Linked DNA regions of Homo sapiens: regions 1, 2, 3, 4, 6 and 7 are each linked to region 5. The links are contacts of gene promoters, found by promoter capture Hi-C in blood cells and fetal thymus (Javierre and others, 2016). All regions are on one chromosome and are shown on one strand. Each heading gives the region's core, a stretch centred on a gene start or on the middle of the fragment in contact. The rest is flanking DNA. Distances are from core to core; before and after follow the strand shown.

Region 1 (2,807 bases), core at 155-2,654, 470 kb after region 5:
AAGAACTACTTTCTAATTCATTCTATAGGGCTGGAATTACTCTGATAACAAAACCAGACAAAGACATTAGAAGAAAAGAAACTTAAAGACCAATATCTTTCATTAGTATAGATGCAAAATCCTGAACAACATATTCACAAATGAAATCAAACTATGTGTAAAATAGTTGGATTATACATTGTGACTAAGTAAGATTGATTGCAGGTGTACAAGACTAATTCAACATTTGAAAATCAAAGGAATCCGTCATATCAACAGGTAAAAAACAGAAAAAATCCTCAAAAAATTGCTAGCAACTCCAATTCAACAACACATTAAACAGATCACTCACCACGATCAAGTGAGATTCACCCGGGTATGCAAGTATGATTCAATATACACAAATCAATAAATGCGATACATTGCATTAAAAGAACCAACAACAAAAACTGCACGATCATTTCAATAGATGCCGAAAATGTATTCAGTAAAATCCTACATCTCTTTATGATAAAAATCCTTAACACATTGGGTATAGAAGGAATATACCTCAAAACAATAAAAACCAAAATGAAAAACCCACTGCTAATATCATACTGAACAGGGAAAAATTGAAAACCTTTCCTATAAGATCTGCAACAAGACAAGGATGCCCAGTTTCACCCCCTTTATTCAGTATCTGACTGGAAGTCCTGGCCGGGGCAATTAGGCAAGAAAAAGAAACAAAGGACACCCAAACTGGAAAGAAAGATGTAAAATTAGCTTTGCTCACCAATGGTATAATCTTATAATCGGAAAAACCAAAAGACTCCCCTCAAAAACTACTAGAACTAATAAATGAATCAGTAAAGTTGCAGAATACAAAATGGATATAAAATATCCGTAAGATGTCTATACATCTACAGTGAACAGTCTGAAAAAGAAATCAAGAAAGAAATCCCACTTACAATAGCTATAAGAAATATGATGTATAAAATACCTAGTAATCAATTTAATTAAAAAAGTGAAAGACTTCTACAAGGACAACTATAAAACACTGATGAGAAAAACGTGAAGAACACACACAGAAAATGGACACATATTCATGCTCATAGGTTGGAATAATTAATGTTAAAAGTACAATGCTACCCAAACAATTTACAGATTGAATGCAATCCCTGTCAAAATACCAATGTCATTCTTCACAGAAATAGAAAAAAAAAAAAACCCTATAATTTGTATGGAACCACGAAAAACCCCAAATAGCCAAAGCGCATTATCGCTTCTTGACTGAAAACTCCCGGACAGTTGGGGCTTTTTCCTGCACAGAGATTGGCCACTTCCTGCACATCAGGAGATCCCCGCGGCCTGCGGGACCCGCCCCGCCCTCCTGCCCAGGCGCCCGCTAGGTGGTGCCTGGCTGGGCCCGACTCCGCCCGCCTCCCCATTCACTGGGAACTAACACCCGGCGCCGCTCAGACATCTCTATTCCCGCCTCTCCGACCCGGTCTCACTTCGCTCCTGGGCAGCTGCGCGGAGAACTGGGGTAGGTGTTTGACTTTGGGAGTGGTTCCCACACGCTGGATTCTCGTTACCTGCTCTTGAGCCCAGGAAAAGGGCGGGAACCTACGAAAGGGAAGCCCAGTGAAGTGCTCAGCGCACCTGTTGCTCCAGACCTTTCCCTGGGGCTGTCCTTCTTTACTCGGTCTCTGGCGGGGGCTCCCTAAGGGCAGGGACTTGGCTGCACTTGGCTGTGTGCCCTATGGGTCCAGGCGCGGGGAGGGGAGGCCAGGGCGAATGGGCGCGGAGCTGGGGGGTGAAAGTCCTGCCTGGGCTCCACTCATCCTGCAGGAGCTGGAAGTAGGTACAATGAGGCCTCCCACCCTGGTGAAGTTTATGTTGGGCGCTGGAAGGGGCTGTGAGGCCTGGGACCTCCAGGAAAAACAACAGCAGCAGTATTTATTTGTCGGTACCGAAACTCGTATGCTCTCAGTATTCAGAATTTGTACTTGACATTCCTCCTCCTTTAAAAGAAACCAGGAGAGGCGTTGATAGTATGTTTTTGGACTGGAAAAAAATCAAAATGAGGACGATACTGTTGCCAGAAAGCAAAAGTGTTGGGATAGTGTAAAAAGAAAGTAACCAATTTACAGAGATTCCCAGTAGACAAGTTGTGAGAATTTGCTCAAGAACAAAAACCAGTATGTGTTAATTGAAATACATGTTACAACAAAGCCAAGAAAGAGTCCTTTAGTAAATTCAGATAAAACAAGTAAAATGGGCCAGGCGCGGTGGCTCACGCTTGTAATCCCAGCACTTTGGGAGGCTGAGGGGGGCGGATCACGAGGTCAGGAGTTCGAGACCCAGCCTGGCCAATATGGTGAAACCCAGTCTCTACTAAAAATACAAAAATTAGCCGGGTGTCGTGACATGGGCCTGTAGTCCCAGCTACTCAGGAGGCTGAGGCAGAAGAATCGCTTGAACCTGGGAGGCAGAGGTTGCAGTGAGCCAAGATTGCACCACTGCACTCCAGCCTGAGGGACAAAGCGAGACTCTCTCTCAAAAAAAAAAAAAAAAAAAAAAAAAAATGTAAGATGAGTTTAAAGGAGGCAGGAAATAATTTCAATAATGTTTACAAGAAATGCTGTGTGATGATTCATATACGACTGCTGTGTAGGAATAGTGACTATAGGCACCTAGGTTGACAGGCACAGTGGTTACAAAAACCAACCTGAAGGCCTAAATATTAAACCAGGAGACTTTGAAAGCCAACTTGTGGATAGAACTCTGTGTTACGCAAATCAGATGCACGAGAACCTCAAATAGTATTTCATTTCAAGGAAAGGCAT
Region 2 (2,774 bases), core at 18-2,517, 450 kb before region 5:
ACTTTTCAAAATAATGACAGGGAATTATTCTGAAATATTATTTCCTAACCTGCTTTTCACTTCACAGATGGTAATAATTTTCTTTTCTGTTTTTTTGTTTGTTTGTTTGTTTTTGTTTTCTTTTTTTTTTTGAGATGGAGTCTAGCTCTGTCACCCAGGCTGGAATTCAGTGGCGTGATCTTGGCTCACTGCAACCTCCGCCTCCCGGGTTCAAGTGATTCTCCTGCCTCAGCCTCCCAAGTTACTGAGATTACAGACGTCCACCACCACATCCAGGTAATTATTGTATTTTTAATAGAGACTGGGTTTCACTATGTTGGCCAGGCTGGTCTAGAACTTCTGACCTCAGGTGACCCACCTGCATCGGCTTCCCAAAGTGCTGGGATTACAGGCGTGAACCACCACGCCCAGCCACGATAATAATTTTCCATGTGAAAAATGGTCTTTTCAGAATCACTGCTGCCTCTTTTTTTGGGGACCGAAAATCTGTGGAGACAGTTTTAGTTGTCATAATAATGAGAGGTGGGAGTGGGATGTGGTGGCAACGTGCAAATGACATTTAGAAGACAAAGGAGTGAAAAATTAGATGTCCTCCAAAACTCGAGTCCAGCCCCAGTTTTGAACATCCTAATGGACATTCATACAGGTAAAAAAAAAATTTATAATGATTTGAAACCCAAACCTAACTTCATTTTGCATATAAGCACGAAGCTTTTTGGTGTGGTTTTAGTATACACTAAATTTTCCAGCAATGCAACTAATAGTGTGTTTAGACCTTTTACTGTGAAATGTTGACTCAACCACCTGGAGAATCTCGTCAGCAATGGCAATGCCAGTGACAGCAGCTCAATCAACATCACAACATCACACCACCTGTATATAGGTGTGTGGTGGTCACTGTATCTGTGATGACTATACATAGAGGTGAATATACTTATTTAGCCTTCTATTTCTAAACATCATATAAATAAAGTGTCTACATTTAGTGGAACATTGTCTTATTCCTACTAAATCTCAACTTATTTAAAAGTAGATTCAAGCATCTGACTTCTTCATTGTATCTTCAAATGTAGTTGTGTCTAAAAATTGCAAATTGACACTGTGATCTCTTGGCAATGCACACTTCTTCTAAGCTCTGCCTTCTGCCTCTGGGGCTGGAAACCTCCAAGTTCCAGCTCCTAGATTCCTTCCCATCTTGCCTCACTTGAGGGTCTGCCAGTAGGAGACACTGGCTTCTGGTTCATCCTGGATCTTATGCTATGAAGGATGGCAGCCACAGCCTGGCTACCAGCGACTCTGAGTAACACCATTTCTGTTTTTGCTTCTCCAGTTCTCGGGGGTAGTCATTCCCTATAGTTACTAATCCTGGAAAACCCTACCTTCATCGATTTGCTCTTCCAGCCTTTCCAAAATCTTTGTAACCAATTCTCTACATTAACTCTCCTCTGAAATACCTACAGTAGTTGTTTTTGTGACTGGACATATATGGATAAAAAATGCATAGGTTTTATTCTATTTGAATTGTTTCTATTATGGTCAGGCCATTGTGTACATTCTTTTAAAAAATTATGCACCTGAGTAAATATATTATCTGTGAATTTAATTTCAGGGTAACAAAAGAGGGGTATTACAAAATATTTATTACTATTATAAAGGGGTGTTGAGCTTGACAGAGTTGAAAACCACTCATCTATGTCATCCTTTTTAGTGACTTCCTTTATCTTCTTACACCTTCCCCTGTTGTTTGACATTCAGGTTACTGCTCACATGTCATCCCCCCATTTATACCGTATTAGTTACTTGTTGCCTTCCTCCACCAAAAGATAAGCTTTATGAGGGCAGCCATTTAATCTGTTGCGTTCACCACTAGACTACTAGTATCTGAATATGTTAGCTACTCAGTAGATACCAAATCAGTACTTGCATATGTTAATTACTCAATAAATATTTTAAAAATAGATGGATGAATCTTTCAGATCTTGGCTTTGACATTATTTCTTCCTGTAAGTCTTTCCTGACATGCCTTGGTCAGATGAAATGTCCATCCTTGTGAATAAAATGATAGCAGAATTGTGGATGAGAACCAAATAACAAGCAAACAGTAACACATAGTATCCAATCAGACCATAGAGAGGTTATTAGAGTCCAAACAAATGATGAAGGAAATTGGTTACAATATGGGTAGGGGCACATCTACCCAACTCAGGTAATAAAGAGGTGAAAAGGGTTTGATTAAAAAGTGGATAAAATAGAAACACGATGCACTGGTTGAAGACTAAATCCCAGTTGAAAAGCGTGGCTTTGGGTTTCTGGTTGATGGAATTGGTTCAGTATATTCACCCATGCTTTGGTAGGGTCAGTCATGCCCACATCCCACTCAATCTCTGACCAATAAGCAATTTCACTGTAGTCCTGAAACTTCATCCCAGTCTTATCAGTGCTGTTCCAAGTGATAAGAATCTGTCCTCTCTACTTAAGTGGCTTTACAGTTCTAAGATTATATTAATATAAGCAGAGAAATGGTGAAGGAAAACAAACCTGTGGTATTAATATTTTGTGTTAAGTTTATTAATAAGTTTTATAATCAGGATAATCTACATAATAAATAAGGGGTAGAAACAATATACATTTGAAGCTCTGATATATCAATTTTGGGATTTCAATTTGAAATACATCATTGGTATTAGACCTGCAATTTTAATTCATAAAGTATAAGATAATTTGATTAAATTTTAAAACAGTATTTGAATGTTTAAGAAAAACTGACCTGAAAT
Region 3 (2,700 bases), core at 132-2,631, 370 kb after region 5:
AAAAGGATAATTGGAGTTTATCAAAAGTAAAAACATTTGCTCTTCCTAGTAAACAAAAAGGTGAATCAGAAATTGGGAGAAAATATTTGTACACATATAGCAGATAAAGGTCTTATATTCAAAATAATAAACTCAAAGAAAAACATTCAGTTAAAACACATGCAAAATATTCTAGCAGACACCTTACATAAGAAAATATACAGATGGCCAATAAGCACATGAAAAGATGGACAACAACATGAGTTATCAGATAAATGCTTAAGGTATTTTTAAAGTCTCTGAAATCGGGTTATGTCTTACTATTTAGGTGCTTGCAATTGGTGTGCTCCTTTTGATGTAAAGTTAATTTTATTTTTAGAAGCAATATTTATTGGGTACTAAGGTTTGGGCAATGTTTTAAACACTTTGTATGCATTATGTCACTTAATTCTCACAAAACCTATGAAGGGAGTACTATAATTAAATCCATCTTCATGGGTGAGGAAATTGAAGCTCACAGAGTGCTTATAACTTGCCCTAGTCCCACAGCTAACAGATGGCAACACCAGGCCTGGAACCCTCTAGCTACCACTATAGCCCATGGGCTTAACTATTATGCTATTTTAAAAATTATTACACTAATGGTGAATGGTCAGTGGAGAATGCCTCAGAAAACAGAGCCTTCTCTGGAGTCCTGATATTAACTTATTTCATTACATTTTGTGGAGAATACCTCAGAAAACAGACCCTTCTCTGGAGTCCTGATATTAACTTATTTCATTACATTTTGTGGATCATTAGATGAATCACTGTAAGGTAAGTGCCTAGTGCCTAGTAGGTATGATCTATTAATGCTACTTCCCTTTCTTCCATCTATTTTGAGGCTTTTGGAAATTGCCAAAATAAATGTTTGAAAATTACATGATTCAATCAATTTAAGCCAGATTTTTATTTATCACTACTATCATTCAACTTTTAACAATCATCTTTTTTTGTGAAAGAATTTTGAATGATGCAGTATTCTTTATTTTTTAACCTGAAAGCATTTTGAATGCTGCAATATTCTTGATCATGGTTCTCAACTAAGGGTGATTTTGCCCCTGGGCGACATCTGGCTCTGTGTCTAGAGACATCTTTGATGGTCAGAATTGTAGGGAAGGGCTGCTACTGCCATCCGGTGGTTAGAAGCCAGAGATGTGGCTGAACATGCTACAATGTAAAGGACAGCCCCACAACAAATAATTACCCAGCCCAAAATGTCAACAGTGCTGATGTTGAGAAATCCTGCTTTACACAATATGCGGGACTTAATTATTTATTGACATCAGTTGAGAATACTGAAATGCTGCAGGAAATGAAAGAAGACTTGGTCTCTGATAGCGTATAGTTACCAAGCCAATGAGGGAAATAAAGAAAATAACACCATGAACTCTACCACTATTATTATAATAAATGTTACAACAGAAAATAATAGAATATTTTAAGGTTTTAAACAAGGGGACTGTAGTCGGATAACACAATGAAAAAAATCAGAAAATGCTCTTTGAGAATCAAGTATGGAAGTACTGTATTTCCTTAATAAAAATAAAATTCGGCTTCTTTAGGGTTGATAATAGAAAATAATTCTTGTTTGCCAAACTTCATTTTCCTTTTAATTCTCTGAGGTATGATGAGACAAAATAGAAATTGTTTAAGGAGACTTAACTAAAGGATGTGGAGTCAACCAAACAGAACAATGTAAAACTGGATGATATCTTACAAAATATGCTTGCACTCTGGGGCTTGAACATGTCCCATCCTGATCTCGGGCCCTCCTCCACAGTCAGGGTGACTCTTAATACCTAGTACACACAATCAAAAATCCAGGCATTTAAATGTCTTCAACGCTGGACCTAGAGAGAAATACAGTTCCCTCCCCCCTCACTCATAGTTACCTCTGAACTGTATTTTCTGTTTTAGCACCTCCTTCACTTTCCAGTGATTGACATGTTCATTGAAATTGCTTCCCCTCTTACAGTGGTGTGGCCTTAATCTGTGTGCTGAACAGGATAACTCTCTTAGAATGTAATACTAAGCCCCGCACAGTCATGTCCTAGATTTAGACGTGGATTAGCAGAGACAGTAGACTGTGGCCGCATTGATGGTAAGATTTTAGACATCGTCTAGTCTAGTATAGGAGATTATTCCTATTGACAGTATATTTAGGTGGAATCCATTTCTAATGCTGTCTTTCAAGAATAATGCAAGGTATGCACTAATCATATATAGATTGTCAGAAACTATTGTATCTAATGGAGAGAAGCCACTGTTAGCACCAGGGAAGCATCAATAGGAGACAAGGTCAAAGGGTGAGCTAGGAATCCAAAGGTAGGGAAGAATTAGGCAAACGGTTGCTATATGTTGATTGTGAGTGATAAAACAGGGCTTGTGCTGGGAGTAATGAGATATTTGATAACATATTTCTTCTTTTTATGAAAACAATAGGTCTTGCCCGGGCACGGTGGCTCACCCATATAATCTCAGCACTTTGGGAGGCCGAGGCGGGCAGATCACCTAAGGTCAGGAGTTTGAGACCAGCCTCACCCACATGGTGAAATCCCATCTCTACTAAAAAAAAAAAAAAAAAAAATTAGCCAGATGTGGTGGCAGGCATCTGTAATCCCAGCTACTCAGGAGGCTGAGGCAGGGAGAATCACTTGAACTGAGAGGCAGAGGATGCAG
Region 4 (2,796 bases), core at 242-2,741, 400 kb before region 5:
CTGATAAGATAAATACAGTATATATCTTTATTAATTCCTTTGTTATAGATCCTGCAAATACCTTCTCGAGGCCTGTTTTTTCCTCTCTAACGTTGATGGGGTATGTTTTGTTATAAAGATGTTTTCTGTTCTGCAGGGTTGCGTGTCAGTTACAGTTGTCATTTGTAAGCAGTAGAATCCGGTCTGACCAGTTTAAGCAGAAAAGAACTTAGGAGAGACAGAAGGGAGTTCACACAACGTTTGGGACAGATGGGAAAAGAGGCCTGAGACAATGAAAGGGACACTCCCAGAACCAACTGACCCTTTCCGGAATCTGCTGCCCACCCCGGGACCACACCGCCTTTGCCCAGAATGCGCCACTGAAATGACAGCGGCTCCCGGAGACGCGCAGCCAGCCAGCTCCCTCCCGCGGCCCGAGGCCCCCGTGTCTGATTGGCAGGCCTGGTCACGTGCCCGCATTTTGGCTGGGAAAGAGTCAGGGAAGGCACCGATTCAGATTCTCCCTTGGGGAAACAACTAAAATGCACGCAAGGTGGCCTAAAAAGCTTGGCAGATTCACTTTGGGCCATAAAGATATTCTTCAAACTTAAAAATAAAAAAATAAAAATAAAAGAAACTAAACTAAAAAATATCTTCATGAACAACATACAGTTATGCTTTGTCTTATTTAAAAATTTTCCATACATAGAATTATGATATTCACATTCGATGAAATTTTGCATTCAAGATGTGGTTGAGGTCTCACGTCTCAGTAGTGTTTAGTTGCGATTTTTCGTGCTGAGGTCTTTAATTCTTCTGGAATTAATTTTTGTATAATTAGTGTAGGAGTCTTTTATATGAAAAGCCAATGCTTCCATCATCAATGATGGCACAAGCTCATCTTTCCCTGCTGATCTCTAGTGCCACCGCTATCATATTCCACATCCCACGTAGCCCCTACATGTGAATCCTGCATGAACATGGATTTGCACCAGGCTCTCTATTCTGTCCGCTGCCTCTTCCTCTGCTCAGACAACTATATTTTAATTTCTGTGACTGTCTAGAATGTTTCAGAATCCGCAGGCCAACTGCTCCTGCCCACCCATTGTTCTTATTTTTCGAAATTATCTTGGCAATGATAATTCACTTTTCCATATGAATTTTAGAATCACGTTACAAATGAACAGAAAAGTTCTGCTGAGATTTTATTTGGAATTTACTTAAATTTATAGATAATTTGGGCAGAATTGACATGTTTATGCTTTTGAGACCTCTTACCCATTATTCAGATCTTCTTTTATATCCTTTAATAAAACTATAATTTTTTCCCATAAAGCTCTTAAAAATGGTACGTAATGTATATTCTTTAGGTCCTTTATAGTTTTGCTGCTATTGTGAGCTGGCTTTTTTTTTTTCCAATTTTTTCCCATTTGTTATTGTTCACATTCAAAAGTTATTGAATTTTGCATGTTGATCTTGTAATCAGTAGCCTTGCTGAATCCTTTTTTAGTTCTAAAAGATTTTCTGTTGATATCTATGCATTTTCTTTGTTCTTTCTTTCTTATTTTATTTTATTTATTTATTTTTTTGAGACAGAGTTTTGCTCTTGTTGCTCAGGCTGGAGTGCAATGGTTCGATCTTGGCTCACTGCAACCTCTGCCTCCCAGTTCAAGTGATTCTCCTGCCTCAGCCTCCTGAGTAGCTGGGGTTACAGACACGTGCCACCACACCTGGCTAATTTTTTTGTATTTTTAGTAGAGATGGGGTTTCACCATGTTGGTCAGGCTGGTCTCAAACTCCCGACCTCAGGTGATCCACCTGCCTCGCCCTCTCAAAATGCTGGGATTACAGTCATAAGTCTCCGTGCGCCACCCATCTATGCATTTTCTATGCCTAAAAATAATAAATTTTCACTTCCTTTCCAAACCTTATGCATTTTATTTATTTGTTGCTTACTGCATTCGCTAGTATTTTCTGTGTAAAGTTGACTGGGGTGGTGATGGCTGCCCTGCTTGCCTTTTCTTGGTTTTAATAGGGATAATCCAGAAAGATGTGATATGATTGCTTTAGGTTTTTGATAAAAACCCTTCATCAAATTAAGGAAGTTCTCTTCCATTTCTAGCTTCCTAAGAGTTTTTCTTTTAGATAAGAGAAGGTGTTGAATTTATAGAATAAAATGTGTCATTTTATTTCTTTTTGATCTATAAATGTTGTAAAGTTCTCCTGATGGATATTTCTGACATTCTTACCTTCCTGGGAAACATCAAAATTAGTTGTGATCGTTAAAAAAAAAATACTCTGGTTGGATTCCATTTGCTAATATTTATTCAGGAATTTTAATCTACATTATAAGTGAGATAACCTATAGTTTCTGTCTCTTGTACTGTCCTTGTTTCATTTTGGTGTTAATTCTACACTATCTAAACTCAGTGGCCTACTGTCCTTTTCTGTTGTCTGGGAAGCTTATATAAGATAGCAATGACCTTTTCCTTAAAGGTTTGATGAAATTCACTGCTGAAATCAGCTAAGACTAGTGTCTTTTTGGGGAGGTGGCTTGAGGGCAGGTATATTTGATTGTCAAATCAATTTCTTTAATGCTAATTGTTTTATTCAGTTTTTCTATTTTAAAATTCAGCCAATTTCAGAATAGACATAAAATTGTGCCACAGATTCCCTTATGATTTTGTTTCTGCTGCATATGTGGTTACATTATATTTTCTATTCCTAATGTTTATTTGTTCATTTTTCTTTATTTATCAGCCTTAATGGGGATTTATTTTATTAGCATTATTTTTCTTTTCTAAGACTCATTCTGTC
Region 5 (2,700 bases), core at 14-2,513:
TTAGTTTAGTCAGTTAATATAGCGAGTTGCTCTTATTCATTACTCAACAAGCACTTATTGACTGCATACTGTACATCAGGTCTGTACCAAGCTTTGGTGTTATAAAAATGAATGAAGTTTGGCACTTACCTTTAACATTGTTGTAGTCACATATAGGAGAATGTAAGAGATTATTATGAAACAATGTAGTAAATGTACAATAGGGAATTCTAGATAAGCACAGCAGAGAAGCAACCAGCTCCGTTTCAGGTCCTTTCCTGAGACTGATTCGGCTGGAAGGGAGTAGGTCCCGCCAAATGAAGAAGCTGTGGGAAGACAGGAGGACAAGAACAGGCTCCACGAAGAGATTTCAGAGCAGAGCTGCGTACTCCTTTTTCTTTTTGTTTCTTTTGCTCTGTCACCCAGGCTGAAGTACAGTGGTTAGCTCACGGCTCACTGCAGCTTTGACCTCCCAGGCTCAAGTGATCCTCTCGTCTCAGCTTTCCAAGTAACTGGGACCACAGGCATGCATCACCACACTAGGCTATTGTTTTACATTTTTTGTAGAGATGGGGTCTCACCATGTTGCCCAGGTTGGTCTCAAACTCCTGGGCTCAAGCAATCCGCTCACGTCAACCTCCCCAAATGCTGGGATTACAGGCGTGAGCCACCGCGCCAGGCCTGAGTAATCCTAATCACAGGATTTTAAAAAGAAACTTCCTGCGCCACCCATTAAACAATATCTCCTACCAATTTGGTAGTAAATATTTTGCTAATAGTACCTAATTTTTAGGTAGGCACTGTGTTTATACATATATCCATTCCTTCTTTTTTGATTGTCTTTCTGTTTAATGGGCAGCTACCTCTCTTGGCATCTAGCAGAATGAGCTGCTGCAGTTTACACAAAAAGAATGGAGATCAGAGTACTTTTTGTGCCACCAACGTGTCTGAGAAATTTGTAGTGTTACTATCATCACACATTACTTTTATTTCATCGAATATTTCACCTTCCGGTCCTGCGTGGGCCGAGAGGATTGCCGTACGCATGTCTGTACGTATGCATGTAACTCACAGCCCCTTCCTGCCCGAACATGTTGGAGGCCTTTTGGAAGCTGTGCAGACAACAGTAACTTCAGCCTGAATCATTTCTTTCAATTGTGGACAAGCTGCCAAGAGGCTTGAGTAGGAGAGGAGTGCCGCCGAGGCGGGGCGGGGCGGGGCGTGGAGCTGGGCTGGCAGTGGGCGTGGCGGTGCTGCCCAGGTGAGCCACCGCTGCTTCTGCCCAGACACGGTCGCCTCCACATCCAGGTCTTTGTGCTCCTCGCTTGCCTGTTCCTTTTCCACGCATTTTCCAGGATAACTGTGACTCCAGGTAAGCAAGGTGGGGTAGCAGGGCTGGTGACTTCCTTTTTTCAGGGAAATTCATAAATATCGTTATTTGAGCTGATTTGAGATGGTGAACAAAATGGACTTAGGTCCATTTTGGGGCTGTTTTCAAAGACGGGCTGTTGGGTTGAGTACTGTCGCCTCTCATCCCCCATGTTGGCAGTATTTCCAGCTCCCAACCCTTTGAGCACCAGGAACACTGCAGAGGGAGTAAAATCACTTAACCATACAAGGTAAGAATATGAAGAAGTCACGTGGCTCGGAGGTTTTGGTGGTAGAGGGGTGCAACCGTGATTCACGGAGGAGAAAATACTTCTGAGGACATTTTCAGGCCTACTTTGGAACTCAGAATGAATTTTGCAATGCTAGTTTCAGAAAGGGTGTGGTACCCGCAAACTGGGGAAAGTTGAGAAGTATTGGTGGGTCTGGCTGGCTCTTCTCCCTGGCTGACGTTGTAAGGCTGAGATTTAGGCATATGGACTGCCCTTCTTTTTGGCATTTTTAAGCATCAGATCGCTGTTCATCTACTTGCAACTGCATTCTTCTAAGCGGAAATTATTCTCCCTTCAGTTTTCTGGGTTTCAGCATAACTTTAAACAAGTTACACATTTCAGATGCATATTCTTGGACTTATAAATTGTAATAGCTGCTTGTAGTTTCTTACTCATATGCTGTACACTTTTTCTTATGGCTTCATTTAAGCATATCATACTAAAAACCAACATGCCAGGCTATTCCAGAGACTTGTAACCAGATCCTCAGAGCTGGGGGCTCTTAGACATATTTCAGCCCAGCCCCCTCATTCTGTAGATGAGGAGCAGAACTCACAGAGGTGATCTGGTGTCCAAAGGCACACAGCTTGTAAGTAGCACCGCTGAGATCAAATCAGGCCTTCACACTTGCAGCTCGGGATGTTTCCACAACACCGTGGGTTCTGTTACCATCTTTTTCATCCCCTACATCTCCCGGGAGGTTTTCGATAATGGGTTCCAAACCTCAGTCCCTGTCAGTTAGTGTAAGTGTTCGATGAGTTCCTTCATGGGTGGAGATGAAGCCTGTCTGAGGAAAGGAGTCTCCAAAGGAAATGAGTCAGCAGGTTTATATCTTTGCTTCCTAACGCCTTGAATTGTGCCACTTCAATCCCTCTGGGTTGTGGATTGACTTTGGGGCTATGCAGTCTCAGCGATTTGGGCCATTCTGGTGTGGCTGAGTCTGGCTGTAAGTTTACTGCTTGGCAACAGTGGGCTGGGTCAGTGGTCAAGATCAGGCTTCTAAAGAGACAGGAGCAGCTATGATGCTTCAGAGCAAAGCAGACGCCCCCCTGCCATGGGAAAT
Region 6 (2,700 bases), core at 118-2,617, 470 kb before region 5:
GGATTGCCTTCTCTGCAAGGCCTATGTGTGGTGCCAGGTCCCGGTGAACCAGGCTATGTAGCAGAATCCTGCACACACGTACTGCACCAAGCTCTCCTGTGTATTGGCGTCCTGTCCTCCTATGGTAAGACCACCTCATGATTCAGCATGGCCAAGGGGCGTGAGCTCTGTGCTGGAGAGCATGGGAGGGGAGGCTTCTCAGGGGTGGAACGATCTGAGCAAAGACGACCCTAACAGCTTCGGTGATCCTCCTTTCTTGCCTTGCTTTTAGCACACATAAACACATGTCGCCTTACATAAATAGGATTGAACCATCCAAACTCCCCGCTCCCGGTGATCTATATTAACCTAGTGTTGTTTTCTACACTTTCCAATATATACATATTCCTATGGCCTATATGTTCATATAGATAGGTAATTAGCACATGCACATGGGGGATACCAAATATTGGTCAGCAGCTTCAGAGTATGTCAGTCTGATCAGTCCAAGATAAAATTCCTATCAACTTTTCACCGAGTGCTCTGACCCTCTGCTCATAATGCAGCCTAGGTCCATTATTCCGAGAGATGTTACAAAATGGCGATTTCTAGCTCTGTCATTCCTTCTGAAATAATTAGCTGGAATTCTTGGATAAAAGCAAACTGCCTTATGAACTGTTTGGTTGCCCTGAAATATGATTTGTTCAGGAAAGGCAGAATAAATGTTGGCTTCTTTTTCTGTATCAATTTTCAGAATAATGAACTGATGCCCTAGTGTTCTCCAACAGTGACCAATAATTTTTTTTAGTGCAATTGTTAATTCATGGATTTTGTGTATTTTATGTGTTTCAATACATTGCATTTATTGTTTTTTTAAATACTCAAATTGTTCCAGCTCACATCAGTGGGAGCCCTTTTAAGTTTTGGCTCCTGTGGCCAGTTTTAAATTATTTTGCTGTTCTTTCTTGTCCTGAGGGCATATTCCGCCAAGTATGTACAGTCAAAATACTGCCTCTAAAGGCCACCAAAGCCATTCTTTCTCTGTGAGACTCTGCCAGCTGATTAATATACATTAGGTTCATTATACATATCTTTCTATTTCTGCATGCTTGACAATTTCCATAATTTTAAAAATGTATGACTTCTTCAACAATTCCTCTCTTAGGGTTCCATCCTGTAGAAATGAAAGCGTCAGCATGTAAGGACATATGTGTAAGGATGTTTCTTGCAGCCTTGTGCAGAGTGACCTGGAACCAGGAAAAAGGGATGCTCGTTAGTAATTTTTTTAGTTACATGGCCCAAAGTTAAACCTATAAGAAGGTAATCTCAAGCAGTGTAGTTTCTGTTCTTGCTAACCATTTTTATTAGTTTTCTTTAATTCTTTTCTTTTCCTTTTTTTGAGGCAGGGTCTCCCCCTGTTGCCCAGGCTGGAGTGCGGTGGCAGAATCATGGCTCACTGCAGCCTGGAGGTCCTGGGCTCAAGGGAACCTCCCACCTCAGCCTCCCAAGTAGCTGGGACTACAGGTATGTGCCACCACACCCAGCTAATTTTTAAATTTTTGTAGAGACGGGGTCTCAATATGTTGCCCAGGCTGGTCTTGAACTCCTGGAGTCAAGCAATCCTCCCACCTCAGCCTCCCAAAGTTCTGGGATTACAGGTGTGAGTCACCGTGCCTGGGCATTTTGCTTTTTTTTTTTTTTTCCCAATATTTCCTTGGGATGGATTTCTAGAAGTGAATTTACCGAGTCAAAGGGTAAAGCATATGCAATTTTTGTAGATATTGCCAAATTCCCTTTCATAAAGGTCGTGCTGTTTTGCATTCTTTTTTTTTTTTTTTTTTTTTTTTTGAGATGGAGTCTTGCTCTGTCGCCCAGGCTGGAGTGCAGTGGCACGATCTCCACTCACTGCAAGCTCCGCCTCCCAGGTTCACGCCTTTCTCCTGCCTCAGCCTTCAGAGTAGCTGGGACTACAGGCGCCTGCCACCATGCCCGGCTAATTTTTTGTAATTTTAGTAGAGACGGGGTTTCACCTTGTTAGCCAGGATGGTCTCGATCTCCTGACCTCGTGATCCGCCTGCCTCGGCCTCCCAAAGTGCTGGGATTACAGGCGTGAGCCACCACGCCCGGCCTGCTGTTTCGCATTCTTAACAACAATATACGAAGGTGCCTGTTTCCTCCACCCTGATCACAGAACGCTTATCATAGCTGTGAATATTTGCCGATCTGATAGGTGAGAAATGGCACCGTAGTATGGCTTTAATTTGCCTTTCTCTTATGAGTGGAGTTTCATATTTTTTCATACCTTTAAGGGTCATTTGCATTCTTTTTTGGTGAATTATCTGTTGTGTCTTTTATCAGTTTTTTCATTCAAGTTGTTGGCCCTTCAATTTTCTGGTGCTTTATACATTCAGGAAATTAGTCTTTTGTCTGTAATACAAATTGCAAATATTTTTTTCCAGTCTTTTGACTTCGCTATGTTGTTCTTTTTAATTAATAGACTTCATTTTTAAGAACAGTTTTAGGTTTACAGAAAAAATTGCCCAGAAAGTACAGAGTTCCCAAATACCCTCTCTTCTCCCTACACACAGCTTCCCTTATTATCAGCATCTTACAAATTGTACACGTGTTACAGTTCAGGAGCCAATATTGACATAATTATCAACTGAAATCTGTAGTTTACATTAGGGTTCACTCCTTGTCTTGAACAATTCTATGCATTTT
Region 7 (2,700 bases), core at 199-2,698, 390 kb after region 5:
CACTCATAGGTGGGAATTGAACAATGAGATCACATGGACACAGGAAGGGGAATATCACACTCTGGGGACTGTGGTGGGGTCGGGGGAGGGGGGAGGGATAGCATTGGGAGATATACCTAATGCTAGATGACACGTTAGTGGGTGCAGTGCACCAGCATGGCACATGTATACATATGTAACTAACCTGCACAATGTGCACATGTACCCTAAAACTTAGAGTATAATAAAAAAAAAAAGTTTAATTAATGTCATAAATTATGATGATGATGGGGAAAATAGGGATATGACTGCATTTATGGAGCCACTTCCATGTGCCCAATACTAAATATGAATAAATGCTTTATGTATTATTGCATTTAATTTCACACAAAAACTAAATGATAGATCATATTAAAGCCCATTTTACATATAAAGATATGAGAGAGCTTAATAAATTGTCCAAAGTTATCCAGGTAAGTTGGAGTAGACGTTAAAAGTTGATTGGGATTTTGTTAAGATACAGTTGATAAGAATGGGGCCTTGACATCCTGACTAACTAGCTGTGCAACCTTGAGCAAGTGCTCTACTATCCTTAAGCTCTGTTTTTCTCCTCTATGAAATGGGGCAATCATAGTACTAATACATATGGTTATCATACAAATTAAATTAGATAATATAGCTAAATTGCTTAGTACCATGAACGCATATAGTAATGTGCAATTTCAGAATTGTCATTATGCACGTAGAATGTTATTCATCACTATGATTTTATGAATCGACTCAAAGCTTGTGTTCTTTTCACTATTAAACACACTGTCTACATATAAGTACAAAAATAAGGGCGTGCGAAGTAGGTGGTTACCTCAGCCCAGCATTGATAGAAGAGGGCTGTGAAGGGGAGGGAGGAGGAAGGAAGAGCTGGAATGAATCCTGCAGAGTTCACAGCGAAGGTGCGGAGAATGATGAGGATGGCATTGAGTAGGTGGGGAGGTCAATTTCATACTGTGAAAGATAATTCCATTACATTTAATTCAGCCAACATCTGCAGAATACTTACATTGCTCAAAGCAGAGAGAAACATGATTTAACTTCCACTGTAGAATTATAGTGTAGTGAACAAGTCAGACAGGTATACCACTATCTGTTTAAATTTGGGGTGAGGGAAGCAAGTGTATGTGGTGAGGGGTTTTGTGAAGTTCTCATCCCAGGCAATGGTAACATCAAAACAAAGAAGCAAGACAAACTAAAAGCTAGATGGAAAAGTCTTTATCAAAAAGAGAAAAAAAGAAACAGAAAGAGAAATTTTAGAATTGTCATAGCCAAAGGGTCTCAAAAGCAATCATTAAACCTGGGACATGAAACCAGAAACTGGGAGTCAGAAAGCTAGAAATGTGTTGAAACAAGCTGAGAGTAACTGGGTGGGGTAAGGAATTGGGAGAGGCAAATATTTTGCATAGCTGTTTGTGCTCATGTTTGAGTTTTATGAAAATAACATAATACTTTTTAATTAATATAATGTAAATCTTCATTTTAAATTGAATTAAAAATTATGAACGGCTTTTCATTAAGTTAAATGAACACATTAAATTAAGTTAATGAATTAGTGTTCACAATCTCCACCACAGGTCTGCCTCTCTCTATTCTCTTTGCTTCTATTATGTGGGGGAGGTTTCTTGCTTCATGGATTAGTTTCTAGGCAGGAGAAACTGAGTAATGTGTATAACCCAGAGGGTAAGTTAACAGATCTAATTAAGAGCTAATAAAAAGGAGGAAAAGGAAGAGGCCTGAGGAATTTTTGTAAAGCAAGGGGTTTAGGTGTCTGAGAGGGCGTGTGAGAGTAGGGAGCAGAGAGAGACATCGAAGAGCAAAGGCAAGAGGGAGAGGCAAAGGTCCAGGCACAGGGCTGTTGTTGATAGAATTGGAAAAGAGTTGCAAAGGGATTTTTGATGTGGTGTCATGGAGGCCTCAACTGGAAACCCTCTTTCTTCCAAGAGATGGAAGCAAAGATTGGAATTGCTTTTCGATTATTTCTGGTTTGCTGGACTATCCAGACAAGGTGCATTGTAACCTGCATGTTTCCGTTGGGGTTAGCAGTAGAACTCAGATAGCTTCATCTCTTGGGAAATAGATATCAAAGAAAGATCCAGAGACAGAAAGCTTTAGAAAAGGAAAGAACAGGTAACCTCAGAAGAAAACTATGTGCAAAATTACCAAGATTTCCAAATTTACATTAATCCATCGATAGTGGAAAAAGCAATGACTTTCACGTACTTGTGTTGTATTCATAAGGGTCATGCCATAGCTTCGGATGTGACTAATTAGGGAGACCAGGTTTATTTGAGGTTTTTATTATTTGAGAGTGAAACTATAGCCAGATGTAATAACCATGTTATTAATGATCCCAAGATGCAATTTTTTTCCCATACTCAAAGTGCTTTGTTATATTAGAAGCAAGGAAGAGCGTTAGTTTTCACTTCTACACAACAAGGTTTCATAATCTATTATAAAAGCCTGTAGCAGGCTGGGTATGGTGGCTCACGCCTGTAATCCCAGCCCTTTAGGATGCCAAAGCGGGCGGATCACTTGTGGTCAGGAGTTCAAACCAGCCTAGCCAACATGGTGAAACCCCGTCTCTACTAAAAAAAAAAACAAAAATTAGCCGGGCTGTTGTGGGCTGTAGTGCACCTGTAGTCCCAGCTGCTCACGAGTCTGAGGCAGGAG

Evidence for each region. The method cuts DNA at HindIII sites, captures the fragments that hold promoters and counts their contacts. A CHiCAGO score of 5 or more calls a contact.
Region 1: the fragment with the promoter of HMSD here is called in contact with the fragment with the promoter of SERPINB5 in region 5 in 11 of 17 cell types (erythroblasts, naive B cells, naive CD8 T cells and 8 more); the score reaches 7.8 in erythroblasts.
Region 2: a contact is called between a fragment that was not itself captured here and the fragment with the promoter of SERPINB5 in region 5, in 1 of 17 cell types (M2 macrophages). The highest score is 5.1, in M2 macrophages.
Region 3: a fragment that was not itself captured here is called in contact with the fragment with the promoter of SERPINB5 in region 5 in 4 of 17 cell types (M2 macrophages, M1 macrophages, M0 macrophages and 1 more); the score reaches 7.0 in M2 macrophages.
Region 4: a contact is called between a fragment that was not itself captured here and the fragment with the promoter of SERPINB5 in region 5, in 1 of 17 cell types (endothelial precursors). The highest score is 6.5, in endothelial precursors.
Region 6: a fragment that was not itself captured here is called in contact with the fragment with the promoter of SERPINB5 in region 5 in 2 of 17 cell types (activated CD4 T cells and M2 macrophages); the score reaches 5.7 in activated CD4 T cells.
Region 7: a fragment that was not itself captured here is called in contact with the fragment with the promoter of SERPINB5 in region 5 in 2 of 17 cell types (M1 macrophages and M2 macrophages); the score reaches 7.6 in M1 macrophages.

What each region holds. Positions count from the first base shown.
Region 1 is chr18:63,947,897-63,950,703 of GRCh38, forward strand. HMSD (histocompatibility minor serpin domain containing) reads left to right here and starts at 1,405. Exons shown (of 4, transcript NM_001123366.2): 1 at 1,405-1,504. RefSeq lists a silencer at 1,243-1,472. The HindIII fragment of the contact is 6,685 bases long and covers 1-2,807 here.
Region 2 is chr18:63,026,855-63,029,628 of GRCh38, forward strand. No RefSeq gene overlaps it. Among named protein-coding and RNA genes, the nearest start is that of BCL2, 290 kb to the right of the region's middle. The HindIII fragment of the contact is 1,117 bases long and covers 710-1,826 here.
Region 3 is chr18:63,849,024-63,851,723 of GRCh38, forward strand. No RefSeq gene overlaps it. Among named protein-coding and RNA genes, the nearest start is that of SERPINB2, 37 kb to the right of the region's middle. The HindIII fragment of the contact is 8,549 bases long and covers 1-2,700 here.
Region 4 is chr18:63,074,877-63,077,672 of GRCh38, forward strand. No RefSeq gene overlaps it. Among named protein-coding and RNA genes, the nearest start is that of BCL2, 240 kb to the right of the region's middle. The HindIII fragment of the contact is 1,896 bases long and covers 544-2,439 here.
Region 5 is chr18:63,475,695-63,478,394 of GRCh38, forward strand. SERPINB5 (serpin family B member 5) reads left to right here and starts at 1,264. Exons shown (of 7, transcript NM_002639.5): 1 at 1,264-1,351. RefSeq lists an enhancer at 13-1,212. The HindIII fragment of the contact is 5,766 bases long and covers 90-2,700 here.
Region 6 is chr18:63,006,353-63,009,052 of GRCh38, forward strand. No RefSeq gene overlaps it. Among named protein-coding and RNA genes, the nearest start is that of PHLPP1, 290 kb to the left of the region's middle. The HindIII fragment of the contact is 3,147 bases long and covers 1-2,700 here.
Region 7 is chr18:63,866,183-63,868,882 of GRCh38, forward strand. No RefSeq gene overlaps it. Among named protein-coding and RNA genes, the nearest start is that of SERPINB2, 20 kb to the right of the region's middle. The HindIII fragment of the contact is 1,371 bases long and covers 764-2,134 here.